Linked DNA regions of Homo sapiens: all the other regions are linked to region 2. Evidence: promoter capture Hi-C in 16 types of primary human blood cells and fetal thymus (Javierre and others, 2016). All regions are on one chromosome and are shown on one strand. The core of a region is centred on a gene start or on the middle of the fragment in contact, and the rest is flanking DNA. Distances in the headings are between cores, read along the strand shown. Region 1 overlaps RPS6KA1 (ribosomal protein S6 kinase A1). Region 2 holds the start of GPN2-AS1 (GPN2 antisense RNA 1). Region 3 overlaps RPS6KA1 (ribosomal protein S6 kinase A1). Region 4 holds the start of DHDDS-AS1 (DHDDS antisense RNA 1).

Region 1 (3,508 bases), core at 82-2,581, 320 kb after region 2:
ATGGGGAACAAGTGTGATGAGATCCAAGTCCTTCGCTACACTTATGCCGGAGACACGACAGTCACTCGGCACCACCACCCTGGGCACCTCCTGACATGTACCCAGACCCTGGCTCTGTGCTGGGAAATGTACACCCATATCATCATCCAATTATCAGGGCCACTGTGTGAGGTGGGCCTTACTGTCCCTGTTTTATGTTGGAGGCCCTACTGGTCCCACAGTGGCATGAGGGTATGAACCTGGTTCTGTCCAACTCAGAGCCTGTGTACTCAGCCATTCTTTAGAAAAGGATAATGGAGCAGCAGCCCCCTGCCCCCCTCACCTGTACCACCGAGTGCAGGGGTGCCTGCGGGGCACGAGGCTTGCCGTCGTCTTCCATCAGGCCGGTGGCCACGAAGCTGAAGCCCCGGAACAGCTGATGGGCCCCAGCGCTGGGGGGGATGCCTGGGGAATCTGTACGGATGGAAGGAGAATGTGAGGGTACCTGAGGAGGTCCCCTCGACCCTGAGGCAGCCCAGCAAAGGGGGAGCACAGGGCCTCCAGACCTGCCTCAGGGGCTGGCCGTGGCGGGAGCCTGCAGAGGGCCTGTCCATCACAGGCCTTGGCCCAACTGCTCATATGTGTTTATTAGACCAGCCCAGTCCTGTCGCATGAGGAACAAAAAAGACTCTCACATCCACCTCCATCCCAGGCCAAGACAGTTCATCCCTTCCTGGATGCTTCCTCCCCAGCTTCCCCATCTTACGTCAGCCCCTTCAGGTCCATCTCTGCACAGCAGCCAGAGGGAAGGTTCCAACCACAAATCTGCCACCCTGCCCACACCTTTCAAAGGTTCCCGTCTGCCTTCAGGAGTAAGTCCAGCTCCTGAGTCTGGCAATTGAGGGCCCTGTGATCCTCACCTCCTCTCTCTCCATACCACAGCTGAGCCATGTTGGACTTCTCAGATCCTTAGAGGGGTCTCTGAGCCCTTGCACACACTGTTCCCTTTAACTAGATAATCCACTCCTTGCCTATCCTTCAAGACTCAACTCGCACGCTCCCTCCTCTGAGAAGCCTTGCCTGATGCTGCTCCTCCGGCCCCTGACTCCTACGAAGCTGCACTTGTCACGTTGCCCAGCGGACTGCTTGGAGAAGTGCTGTCTCTGTCATCAGAGGCGTGCAAGTGCAGTGAGAAAAGCACCCCCTTGTGGATCACCTGAGGTCAGGAGTTCGAGACCAGCCTGGCCAACATGGTGAAACCCCGTCTCTACTAAAAATACAAAAATTAGCCAGGCGTGCTGACACATGCCTGTAATCCCAGCTACTCGGGAGGCTGAGGCAGGAGAATCTCTTGAACCCAGGAGGTGGAGGTTGCAGTAAGCTGAGATCACGCCATTGCATTCCAGCCTGGGCAACAGAGCGAGACTCCATCTTGAAAAGAGGAGAGGAGAGGGAAGGGAAGGAGAGGGAAGGGGAGGGGAGGGGAGGGGAGGGGAGGGGAGGAGAGGGGAGGGGAGGAGAGGAGAGAAGAAAAGCACACCCTCTCCTAAAACATGCCCTTATAGGAGGTTTCCCAGAACATTCCACCCCACACCCACTGTCAATATCTGGCCAAAAAGTTAGGATTCACCAGGTTCCTTCCCAGAAGCTCCCTCACTGGCTTCTTGTAGCAACCCCAGGGAATGAGTGGGTTTGTGGCTGTGCCCTTGTTCCAGATAAGTACACGGAGGCCGGGCAGTCAGGGCAGCCAAAGCTGATTCCCATGCCTGTCCCTGACCTATGGGCACTGTCACCTCTGCTCAGCCACCACACAGTGTGGCTGGGTCAGATTCTTTCTCCCTGACGTGATGGTAAGCCTGATGTGTTTGGTCTTCCCAGTGGGCTGGAAGGTGCCCCGGGCAGGGGTCCTGGCTTTTCTACTGTGGCCTTCACCACCCACACATCCCCACTCCCACTCTCTCACCAGACACAAAGAGACCCACAGAGCCCCATAGTGAGAGAGTCGGGCGGAGTGAGACAGGGACAAAGTCAGTCCCACGGAGCCAGAAACTCACCCGCCTGCCCACCCGCATACCTCGGCCTGTCAGTGTCCCTGACTATCTCTGCCCCCCAAGCTGCCACCGACTCCCGGCTTCCCTCCTGTACCAGCCCAAGACAGACAAAACAGATAAGGGACGCACCCTTGGGTGTGCGGGACGTGAACTCGGTGTCAAAGTAGAAGGTGTCATCAGGCTGAGCCACTGCTGGCTTGAAGGGTGGCTTGATCTCACGACGGTATAGCTTCTGCACAGTGGGGTGGGCACTCTGGTCACCATGGCATCCTCAACAGCCCACCAGGAGCCCCATGCAGGAGGAGGTGCTGGGCTTGGAACATAGGCCATATTGCCCAGCTCTCGGAATTGCTTGCCCTCAGGAGGCCAGCCCTTGTCTTCAAGGGCAGGCTGTGACCCTCTGCTCCTGCGTCTGGGGCCCTCGCTGGCAGAGGCTCCCCTCCCACCACCCTTCCTGTGGCCAAGATGGCTGAGCCCTGGCCAGAGCCCTGGTGTGGGTGGACACACTCACATTCCAGTCAATGGTGGAGTAGAAGACATGCCGCTTGATTTCCTCTGCCCCATCAGGGCCGGAGCCTGAAAGAGCCCAAATGAAGGGTCTGTCCCTGGCTGGCACAAGTCCCAGATATTACCCTGCCCACCAAGCAGCCTCACAGGGCTCTGGGACCAGCTGCTGGAGCAGAGGGGAAAATGGGCTCACTCAGCCTCAAATCTACCCAGCCATCACCCTAAGGCCTGTCACCTACTCAGCATTTTCCACTTTCTGGAGCTTCTGATGAAGAAATTCCAATGTACCAGTGGGAGGAGGAAGGCCCAGAGACTTTAGGCAACTTCTCCAAGGCCACACAGTTAGAACAGAAGCTGAGCTTGTTCTGAGACCTACAGAGAGCCCCACCTCATTCCAAGGCAAGCCTCATCTCTGTTCCTCTTATCCCATTGACCTTTTCAACCATAGGACAGGCTGTTACTCCATTCGACCCCAGGGGCCTTGACTGGACCTTACACAGCTGGTCATGGACCAGATGAACCCAGGAGCCAGGGAAGCCAGCACACACTGGACACCTACTACATGCCGGCATGTTCACACAACCTCATTTCATCAACAGAGCCCTGAAGCAAGCTTGGGATCATCATCTCCCATTGAGACGAGGAACCTGCGGTGCAGAGAGGTGAAGTCACCTGCCTGGGGTCACTTAGTTCATAAGTGGCCTCATTCGTTTAACAAATATTTATAGAGGGACTGTTTTGTGCCAGGCAGTGGGGACCTGACACAGAGCCGGGATTGGGACCTATGCCTTCTGACTCCTGAGCTCATGCTATTTCTCTTGTGCCAGCAGCCTTGGCGGAGAAGCTGTGTGGGGGCCTCTGTCCTTGTCCCCAGAGGGAGTAGGGATGACTCAGTTCCTGCCTTCCCCCTACACACAGGTCAACTCCCCCCTCCACAACACCACACATGGAGCCAGAAAGCAGGGTGGCCC
Region 2 (3,475 bases), core at 192-2,691:
TTTGCTGACTAAATTGCGAGTATCCCTCCTTTGGTATATTTATTGGTGAGAAGTCACAGCCCTTGTCCCACAGGTTTTGCAGCCAATCAGGAGAAAGAAATTAGGCACCTGTAAAGTATTACTGAATCATAGATAGTTCACCAGTGGTTTGGGCAGTTGGCAAATTAATTTAGGGACATCTGTTCTGAAACAGCATTGAAATAGGACTGACTGCTTTGCTTTCTGGTTGTGGCAGCCAGAGCCAAAGGCAGATGAATGAGGGGCTATGAGGAGGCTACTGTGGCTGGAACAGTATGAAAGCAACCTCAGCTCCCACGCCTGGCTGTAAAGGGGATAATAACTGGGTGCTGCTTCCCAGCCTCTTTCATCTGAGAAGTTCAAAGCACCTCACCCCTATTAACACCCCACAGAGTAGGTAGGAAGTACCAATAGAGCAAGCCAGGAAAACTGAGGCCAGGAGGCACAGCCTGGGGCTAGCTGTGAATCACCTGTGGGGCCTAGAGCCCAGGAATCCTGACGCCCAGGCTACTGGACAAATCCTTTATCAGGGCATTAGGGTGGGTGCTATGCTTTTGAAAGCAGTACCAACGGCTGTGGTCGTGGGTTTTGATGCTTGCCACTCACAGAGGCCCCAGCTCTCACCATAACAAACCAAATGGGGGCTGGAAGGCATCCTTTACAACTTTATGGTCTCGTATGCAAGCACCCTCAGCATTCTCTGCACCCATGGAGTGGAGATGGGTGGGAGTAATCCAAGGCCTTTATTTTCAGGCCATGGTTTGACAGCAAGGGTATTTTCTTCCCCAATAAACGTAGCTTCTGTCTACCTTCCACTGGCAGCAAAATGATTTTCTGTTCTCTGCATATACTGAGGGGATCTGCACAGTGCAGAAAGGAAGATGTCCGAGATCCAAGTGAGGCCTGTTCAGTGTGAAATGTCTAGGGTAGAAGAAAGACCATCCTCCATTATGGCTGGCATGTGGCAGTCATCCTTAAGATTATTTTTAAATTTCCTAATAAATATAGGAAAGTAAAAAACTTAGAAAATGAAAGAGAAGGCCGAGCACGGTGGCTCACGCCTGTAATCCCAGCACTTTGGGAGGCCAAGGCGGGCTGATCACCTGAGGTCAGGAGTGTAAGACAAGCCTGACCAACATGGTGAAAACCTGTCTCTGCTAAAAATACAAAAAAATGAGCAGGGCATGGTGGCATGCGCCTGTAATTCCAGCTACTTAGGAGACTGAGGCAGGAGAATCGCTTGAACCTGGGAGGCGGAAGTTTCAGTGAGCGGAGATCGCGCCATTGCACTCCAGCCTGGGTAACAAGATGGAAAGTACATCTCAAAAAAAAAAAAAACGAAAATGAGTCACCCAGAATCCCATAACGGAAACTTTCTATGGGGTCATCTGTTTAAGAGAAAAATAAATTCTATATTCAAATGTATATTTTGTGTATTCTCTTTTTTTCTCATCTCTGTAAATACCTGGAGATATTTTATGTATTCTTTCAGCCTTATTTTTATACCTGGGGTGGATATTGCATTTATATAAGTGGGATATTTTATAATTGTGTTGTATCCTGCCTTTTTCAGTTAACACCATTCCATGTAATAAAAAATAGATACAATTCCTGTAATTCTAGGACTCTGGGAGGCTGAAGTGGGAGGATCACTTGAGCCAGGAGGTGGAGGCTGCAGTGAACTATGATTGTGTCACTGCACTCTAGCTTGGGCAACAGAGTGAGACCCTGTCTCAAACAATCAAGTAAATAACCTTTTTAATGTCACTTTGGTAATAGTCCATGGTTTGGCTATAACATTGTTTACCTATCCATACTCCCGTGGTTAGCCTACTACTAGCCTACAAGTCATCACCAACTTTTACTTTTGTAAATAGTGTGATTAATATCCTCGTACCCAAATCATTGTCTGAGTCTCTGATTTTTAACTTGGGAGGTAGTCCTGGAAATGAAATAACTGACATATTCCAGGTTCTGGATTCATGTTGCCAAAATGCTTTCCAAAAAATGTGCCACTTTACATCTCACTGATAGTGTCTGAAATTGCTCTTCTCATCTCCAGACCTCCCTTGACAATTCTCTACAACTTCGGGAGGGAGGAAGCCCTCTCTGAGTGTCTTAGAAGGGACCTTCCTGGTCATCCCTACTAACCACTGACATTAGGTTATATGCATTTCTTGGCTCTGAACTGGGAACCTCAACAATTAGAAGACAGTGTAGAATTGGAAGAACTTAGCAGGGACCACAGGTAATTGGAAAGGTTTCCAGCCTGACAAAGAGGCTTAGGCATGAGGGTGAGGCCCTAAAGCCCACAGAGCTGAAGCACATCCAGTCTGCCTGGATTAGCAAAATGCTCACCCGCTGGTGGCTGAGAATATAGGAAGTATGGTCCCATTAGGATCTGTGGGAAAGAGAAAGGGAAGGCCGATTTGAGGAATTCTCTGTCCCTTTCTCAAGAATCCTGAGGGGGGAGGGGAGTGGCTTCAGACCCACCCAAGCACTATTAAGGCCCTCGCCAATTTTGAAAGCAGTGAAGAGGCCCAATTATCCCGGAATCCTGGAGGGAAATTCTCTAGCAAAACACTAGTCCCCTCCTCTCTCTCTTCTCTTGTCTCTGGCTTTTGAGTCTTTACTTACCCAGCCTGATCTGGGCCATTCACTCTCTTTTCTTGTCCCGTTTAGAAGGAGTTGCAGCACATACCTCCATGGCATCAGGCCTGCTAAAGATGTGGAAACCTGTGTCCCTCATTTCAAGCCCAGTGTGACCTTTTCCAGCCAGGGAGCTAACTCCAGGCAGCCCCAGAAGCCCAGGTGTCTAGATGGGCCAAGACAGGGGCTGTGACAAGATGGGGTGGGGATTTAGGGGCCAATTGAGGTGGAAAAAAGACAGTGAAAACAAGTAAAAAATGACAGTATTGGTAAATTGCTCTGGATGAGAATGCACAGCGAAGGTTGTTTTTTTCTCCTCATTCTAAAACTCTGAAGCAGTTGTGGAGGAGGGACATGAGAGGCCCATTCACAGCCATGCCAAATAAACGTGAATTTTTTTTTTGAGACAGAATCTTGCACTGTTGCCCAAGCTCACTGCAACCTCCACCTTCCAGGCTCAAGCCATCTCCCACCTCAGCCTACTGTGTAGCTGGGACTGTAGGCCCATGCCACCATGCCTGACTAATTTTTGTATTTTTTGTAGAGATGGGGTTTCGTCATCTTGCCCAGGCTGGTCTCGAACTCCTGAGCTCAAGCTATCCTCCTGCCTCAGCCTCCTAGAGTGCTGGGATTACAGGCATGAGCACCCGGCCAAATGTGAAGTCTAATGCAGTGTGCTTGCCATGTCAATGTAGCTTCCAGGAATGTCCCCTAGTGCCTCCCTTTGCACTGAATTGTCACCTCCAAGTTCTTCCTATATTTAATCCTGGAGCCTCCACATTGTGGAGTCACAGAAACAGCAAAGAAC
Region 3 (3,463 bases), core at 823-3,322, 300 kb after region 2:
TTGTGAGCAGTTTGGGGACAAGTTACAGAGTTGACACTGGGATCTTGGTGGGGGCCAGATCACACAGGACACTGAATTCAAGCGAGGATGCCTCAGCAATATCTTGTAGACAGTGACGAGTCACTTCAGGGCAGATGCTGGGTCAGATTTGTGATTGTAAATGGAGGATGTTGGGGACACAAAAGTCTGGAGAGATTTAGTAGGCTACTGGAAGAACAAAAATATGAGAAGGGCAGGGAGGATGGAGAGGAGGGGATGGATCCTCCAAATATTTAGGAAACAGAATTGATGGTGGCAGGATGCAGAAGTGGGGGGAAGGAGGCAGGGTGATGCTCAGGATTCCAGCTGGGTGATGGGGTCCAGGGGAGACAACCCTGGATGATGGGTGGGACAGGAAATGTTGGTTCCAAGATGGGGAAACCAAGTCTCCAAGAAGTGAAACACACAGGACATGGGTTGGGGCTAAGTACCACATAAGTGTCACTGGTTGCAAAGGAGGGCTTCCTAGCCCATGGGGCCCCAACAGCACCCTCCTTGCTCCTGTGGGGAGGCTGCCGGGCTTAGAATCCGTACACTTAGGCCAGCCCCAAAACTTAGCTGCTGTTATCAGAATCTCCTTCCATCATAACAGGACTTATTCACTTCTAAGGCCCTAGCTTTCTAAAATCTGTAAAGTGGGGCGGCCGAGACATAATGGAAACCAAGGCCTGGTTCATAAGGCTTGGAATCTTGCCAGACTGGGGGTGGGGGGGTCCTCTGGCTGTCATCCCTGAGTGTCCCTTGCTGGTGCTCCAGGGCTCAGCACAGGCATCCCCCCACCCCCTCATCTTTGCTCAGGCCCTAGAACAGCACTTCTCAAACTTTAATATGCACAGAAATCACATGTAGACCTTGTTATAAGATAGATTCCTATTAACCAGGTCTGGGGACAGGCCTGAGATTCAGCACTTCTACCCAGCTCCCAGATGATGCTGATGCTACTGGTATGTGGACCACACTCTCAGAAGCCCCGTCTCTTGGCTTTGCAAACTTTCTCCAAGCTAATGACTTCCAAATTTATCTTTCCAGTTCAGATCTCTCCCTAGAACTTCAACTTCTAATTACAACTCTTATTTGACATCTCCATTTGGATATTTTTATTTATATTTATTTATTTATTTTTTGAGATGGAGTCTCGCTCTCTCACCCAGGCTGGAGTGCAGTGGCACGATCTCGGCTCACTGTGAGCTCCATTTTCTGGGTTCATGCCATTCTCCTGCCTCAGCCTCCTGAGTAGCTGGGACTACAGGTGCCCGCCACTAGGCCCGGCTAATTTTTTGTATTTTTAGTAGAGACAGGGTTTCACCATGTTAGCCAGGATTGTCTCGATCTCCTGACCTCCTGATCCGCCCGCCTCGGCCTCCCAAAGTGCTGGGATTACAGGCATGAGCCACTGCGCCCGGCATAATTTTCTATTATTTTTAGTAGAGACGGGGTTTCTCCATGTTGGTCAGGCTGGTTTCGAACTCTCAACCTCAGGTGATCCACCTGCCTCGGCCTCCCAAAGTGCTGGGATTACAGGCGTGAGCCACCATGCCCAGCCATTTGGATACTTAAAAGTTACCTCCCACAGAGCTCTAAAAATTTTCCTCAAACCTATTTCTCTCCAATGCTTCCCCCAAAACTCTTTCCCCAAAAATCTAGAAGATATCCTTGAATCTTCTGTTTCCCTTATCCTCTGCATGCAAACTGCCAGCAAGTGCTGTCTACTTTACCTCCAAAGCATATCCTGACCCCATCTACTCCATCCCAATCTCCATCCCACCACCCTAGTCCAAGCCACCTCATCTCTTGCCTGGGCTACTGCAGTAGCCACCAACCTGGTCACCTTGCTTCCCTCCTGCCTCCCCACCTCACTGTCCAAATTCTCTACAGAGCAATCGGAGTGATCTTTTATTTTTTTGAGACAGTCTCGCTCTGTCGCCTGGGCTGGAGTGCAGTGGTGCGATCGCGGCTCACTGCAACCTCTGTCTCCCAGATTCAAGCAATTCTCATGCCTCAGCCTTGCGAGCTGATGGGTGGGAGCATGCGCCACCACACCCAGCTAATTTTTGTATTTCTAGTAGAGAGAGTTTCGCCATGTTGGCCAGGCTGGTCTTGAACTCCTGACCTCAAGTGATCTGCCTGCCTCGGCCTCCCAAAGTGGTGGGATAACAGGCGTGAACCACTGCACCTGGCCCAGAGTGATCTCTTAAAAATGTGAATCAAATCATGATCAAATCATGTCACTTTCCTGCTCAAATTATTTTAGGAGCTTGCGCCTCACTCAGAATTAAATGCACGCCTAATCCTGGCTTACAGTGCCTAGCATAACTGGCCTCTGCCTCCTTTCCAGCCTCATCTTGGGCAAACGCCTGGCTCTGGGGTCACAGCTACATCAGCCTCCTCTCATCCCTGAGCACACCGAGCCTGTTTCCCCCTCATGGCCTTTGTCCTGACTGCCCTCTGCCTACCAGTCTTGGCTGACCCCTTCTCACCATTCAGATCTCAGCTCCTGGGTTACCTCCCCAGAATGGCCTTCCCTGATTACCCAATATCTCACCCCAGTTTAATTCTGTATGTGTCTTATCAGTAGCTGACCATGGCTTGTTAAGTGTCCGTTTCCCCTACTGGGAAGTAAGACCCCTGGACACAATGACCTTGTTCTTTACCTGGTTCACCAGCATCCAGAACAGGGCCAGAATGAGTGCTCAGAAAATACTGCATGAGAAAATGTCATTCCCCAACTTGAGCCTGTTTCCCCATCTATAAAACAGGGATAATACAGAGCATCTACCTCACAGGGTTAAGATTAAATGAGATATTCATGTGAGGCCCAGGCATAGTGCCTGGCACTTGGTCACCATTGGCTAATAATACTGTTATCAATACCATAATGGAATCCCCTGGCAGGAACACGTGGGCCAGGCCAGCGGGATTCCCACACACTCCCCAGATGACCTGGTTCCAAGCAGCTGGGCTAACTGGCCCTGGCCCATTTTCTGTCACTGCCAATGTCTTCAACATCCGATAGCAGAGAGAGGGTAAATTCAGGGATGAAGAGTGCAGGAGAGCGTGCTTCAACTCAACAGTTTATTAGAAAGGCCATGGACAGATGAACCCTGAGTAACCAGCTGAGGAAGAAATGAAAAAAGACCCTGTCCCTCATGGCCCGCCCACTGGCCTCCTGTGAACTCTGTCCTGTTGCCAACCCCAGATGAAGTCAGCCAAAAAGTGCTTTCCACATCCTCTCTCTGGGGCTGCCCAGCCTGACCGCAGGGGATCCACTGGCAGAGCCAAGGTGGATGCTGGTGCCTGAAGCTGGAAGCCAGCAGGACATGAGACCCCTCCTGTAGCAGGAAGTGGTTCTAGAACTCCCAGCAGAACAGAACGGAAAAGGAGCTGATTGGGGATAGAATGAGTTCTGCTAAACAGCCAGATGCTC
Region 4 (3,569 bases), core at 401-2,900, 410 kb after region 2:
TTGTATACATGTTTTTGTCCTAATCAGCCTGTAAGCACCTTGACTGCTCTGTCTTCATGGTTTAAAGAATATCTTACATGTGCACAACCACTTCATCTGTTGCCTCACTTGACCCTCACAATGGAGCTGTGAGGGAGGTACTTTCTGCTGGAGACAGACATGGAGCAGGGAACTGATTTGCTGTCTCTCAGCAATAAAGGTTTACTGCATGAATAAGGATGACAAATGAGAATTCTGGACTGTCCCCCCCGGCTCCTGAATAATCCCAGGCATTCAAGAATACTTCTCTTCTGCTATTACAATGAATTACATGTGGAGCTATGAGGACTTCGGGCTTGAACAGTTGCCGTAGAGCTCTCCGTCTTGCTGGAAGGGCTTCTTCCAGGCCTTGGTCAGGAGGCTCCCTGGGTGCTACATACAGGATTTTTTTTGAGGATATGGAGATGCGCAGGACACGATCCCAGCAATCCAGGTGCTTACAGGCTGATTGTACAGCCATGCACACAGAGTGCCACGATGCAAAATAGGATGTGGTAAGGGTCATGCAGTTCAGAGGAGAAAGCAAGTGTGGCTGATGAACATCACGGAGCAGTGACCTTCATGGACAGACAGAATTTGAGCTGGCCCTTTAACCAATGAGGAGGATTCAAACAGAGGTGAGGTGTGTGGGGGGCAGGGAGAATATTCTGGCAGTGGGAGTAATGAGCAAAGATGCATGGAACCGAAGAGCCTGTTAAGGCCAGAGTAAGTCCACCTGGAGCACTGGGGTTTGAGAAGTTCCTAAGGCCTCCCTCACCTCTCTAAGGCTCTCTCTTACTCTGCAAAACCGGGATAAGAGTACCCACCTCACTGGGTTGTTTGAGGAAAAATGAGATAATGAATTTTCAGCCTACTGCTTGGCTATTAACTGTTAGCTGTTCTATCACCGCCACTTGTGGACTGGGCTAAGTAGTCTAAGTTTCTGGCAGAACAGAAAGGATGGGGGACGCTCAGCAACAGAGGGAGGAAATATGGAGCTAGCTAAAGCCACTTCATGAGGCGCAAGCTTCTTCCAGATGGCATCAGAGTGCATGCCAGCAATGGGGGCTGTAGCCCAGGCAGAGCCTGGCCCCTGTCTGCCAGGAATTAGCAGTTCATTGTTCAGATAGCAGAGTTGGGAGGGTGTCTGCTCGTCATTTTACAGAAAATGACAGCGAGGCTGAGATGGCTGAAGTTCCCTTGGCTTCTCCACTAAGATAACTTCTTGAGAGGACAATGTGAAGTGTATCTCGTGCCTGTGTATAAGCTCTACTTTCTAGGGGTGGAAAAGCTGGTGGCCTGTATCTGGATACCTGTCTATCCAGCTTCCACATGGTCTGAATCTACCCTTTCAATCTCAGAGGTGTTTCCAGTTCTTCTCAAGTACTTACCCTTGGGAAATCCAAGCTAACAGAAGTCCTAGAGGTCAACTTTTCTCTCCCTGACCATTTGTCTACTATCCTTGTATAATGACCAATCAGGGTAAGTGAGGGCGTTAATTCTTTCCTTAGAGACTTTTTGTACAGACCTTATCCAATCTTGGTGCAAGGGCTCCAAGAAGCTCACTTTGAGAAATGTGGTTCTAACCTATGAATCTAAATTCCTCCTGGGCATTATCCCTCTCTGCTCTTATTCTCTCCTTGGTAGAATCAGAGAACAAGATGTAATAGTCCCTCCAGTACTTAAATCTAAAAGTCCTCTACCACTCTGTTGGCACCTGGAGAGAGGCTGCAGGTCCTTGGCTTCAAAACATTAGCCAATGAAAAGTCCTTCCCCAAGCTGCAACCAGCCAGCCCAGGTCAGCAGCATGAGGAATGCATTTCTGAGGGCTGCTCTCAGGCAGAGAAGGGCACCTCCTACCAGAAACATGATGTTCTGAAGCACCCTCAGAGTCTCCTTGCCTGGGGAGTTGTACTGGGGACAGGATGTGCAGGGTGCTTTTCCAGAGAGGAGTCTGAGGAGAGGCCAAGAGACACACATGTGGGGAACAATATTGGCCACCATTCTTGGAAAATGAACTCTGTTCCAGCCACTGCACTCAGCACTTGACATGTGTTAGCTTACTGAATCCCTATCACAAACCTGCAAGGTAGGTATTACTGTAAACGCTACTTCTCTCATTTTACAGGTGAGGAAAATGATACTCTGAGGGGTTAAGTAACTGTACAGTCATATAGCTATGTAGGCAGTGCCAATATTCAAAGTCATGAATGTCTGAGACATTAACTCAAGCTTTTAGGCTAAGGTGGGAGGCTCGCTTGAGCCCAGCTGCTCAAGACCAGCCTGGGCAACATGGCGAGACCCCATTTCCACATGCATACATATATGCATACATACATAACTCAAGCTTTTATCCTGAGGAGAAGATAGTGACAACCTGAAGAGCAGAAGAAATATAATGTTCAATCCAGCCCGTTTAAATTGTGACAAATGTACTACAGGAAGCTTCGTGGGAACATGTGTCTTTTCCCTCTCTAATATCATCCTTGGAGATGAGGTGAACACTTTTTACTCATCTCCATCAGTGACCTCTCAAGGACCTACCATCCATGCAACTTGTGATTGAGGATCAGCTGCTCTGCACTGCCGCACACCCCCTCCCTGGCCTGATTCTCTATTTGTCCCTGCCTCTTTGCTGACAAGTCCTACTGCATCATAGTCAAGATCTCCCTTTGCCAGCCTTTAAGACTGGCTAGGTGACCACCTGGAGACTGTCATGGTCCATTCAGATACCAAGGTCTGGCTCCCCACAACTTGTAGCCAAGTCCCTGCTTCCCTTACGATCCACCCGCTGCCTTCCTCTCAGTAAGCTACTCTAGGTCCAGAGCCTAGCCCCTTGCCCTGGCTTCCTGCAGAGAATAGGGACACATTGGGCAGGGCCTAGAGACAGAGCAGCTCAGATTTTAAAATGGGAATTTGGGTGATGGGGCAAGAGCACAGACATACAGGTAGGAAACTGGAGGGCATGGAACAGGTAACTGGGAAGAGTCCAGTTTGGCCATGATACAGGGTCTGTAAAAGGGAGACATGAGAAAAGCCTGGAAAGACCTCTCTGGTCTGAGAACAAACTGGTGAGGATGCTGTTAGTCTGGATTCTCCCCTTAGTGCATCTGCCAAGGTGATATGATTTCTAGAAACAGAGCTTTGAAGCTTCTGGGGTAGAGAAAGCCTGGCCAGGACCTCCAAGGGCTCCTGCTGGAGAAGGCTTCAAGATAATCAGTATCTCTATTATAACTTTGGATTCCTTGCTCTAAAAACAGAGGCAATAATAATAGTATCTGCCTTAAAGCAGTTCACAGAATTTACTGAAAGGATGCCTGACATGTGGTAAGAACTCAATACTGGAAGGATGCCTGACATGTGGTAAGAACTCAATAAAAGTTTGCAAATATAGGCCGGGCGCAGCGGCTCATGCCTGTAATCCTAGCACTTTCGGAGGCCAAGGTGGGTGGATCACCTGAGGTCAGGATTTTGAGACCAGCCTGGCCAACATGGTGAAACCCTGTCTCTACTAAAAATACAAAAATTAGTTGTGCGTGGTGGCACGTGCC

The links. The method cuts DNA at HindIII sites, captures the fragments that hold promoters and counts their contacts. A CHiCAGO score of 5 or more calls a contact.
Region 1: a contact is called between a fragment that was not itself captured here and the fragment with the promoter of GPN2-AS1 in region 2, in 6 of 17 cell types (neutrophils, naive CD8 T cells, total CD8 T cells and 3 more). The highest score is 10.5, in neutrophils.
Region 3: a fragment that was not itself captured here is called in contact with the fragment with the promoter of GPN2-AS1 in region 2 in 5 of 17 cell types (neutrophils, endothelial precursors, total CD8 T cells and 2 more); the score reaches 10.8 in neutrophils.
Region 4: a contact is called between a fragment that was not itself captured here and the fragment with the promoter of GPN2-AS1 in region 2, in 1 of 17 cell types (neutrophils). The highest score is 6.4, in neutrophils.

The regions. Positions count from the first base shown.
Region 1 is chr1:26,555,752-26,559,259 of GRCh38, reverse strand. RPS6KA1 (ribosomal protein S6 kinase A1) reads right to left here. Exons shown (of 22, transcript NM_002953.4): 12 at 2,542-2,606; 13 at 2,160-2,262; 14 at 323-453. Among named protein-coding and RNA genes, the nearest start is that of MIR1976, 3.0 kb to the right of the region's middle. The HindIII fragment of the contact is 3,642 bases long and covers 1-3,152 here.
Region 2 is chr1:26,874,100-26,877,574 of GRCh38, reverse strand. GPN2-AS1 (GPN2 antisense RNA 1) reads right to left here and starts at 1,441. Exons shown (of 2, transcript NR_199049.1): 1 at 1,265-1,441. GPN2 (GPN-loop GTPase 2) reads left to right here. Exons shown (of 5, transcript NM_018066.4): 5 at 1-1,443. RefSeq lists an enhancer at 2,202-2,701. The HindIII fragment of the contact is 11,262 bases long and covers 1-3,475 here.
Region 3 is chr1:26,574,660-26,578,122 of GRCh38, reverse strand. RPS6KA1 (ribosomal protein S6 kinase A1) reads right to left here. Exons shown (of 22, transcript NM_002953.4): 22 at 3,098-3,463. Among named protein-coding and RNA genes, the nearest start is that of MIR1976, 22 kb to the right of the region's middle. The HindIII fragment of the contact is 5,473 bases long and covers 1-3,463 here.
Region 4 is chr1:26,464,135-26,467,703 of GRCh38, reverse strand. All of the region lies in intron 8 of DHDDS (dehydrodolichyl diphosphate synthase subunit), which reads right to left. DHDDS-AS1 (DHDDS antisense RNA 1) reads left to right here and starts at 167. Exons shown (of 3, transcript NR_125953.1): 1 at 167-656. The HindIII fragment of the contact is 1,205 bases long and covers 1,048-2,252 here.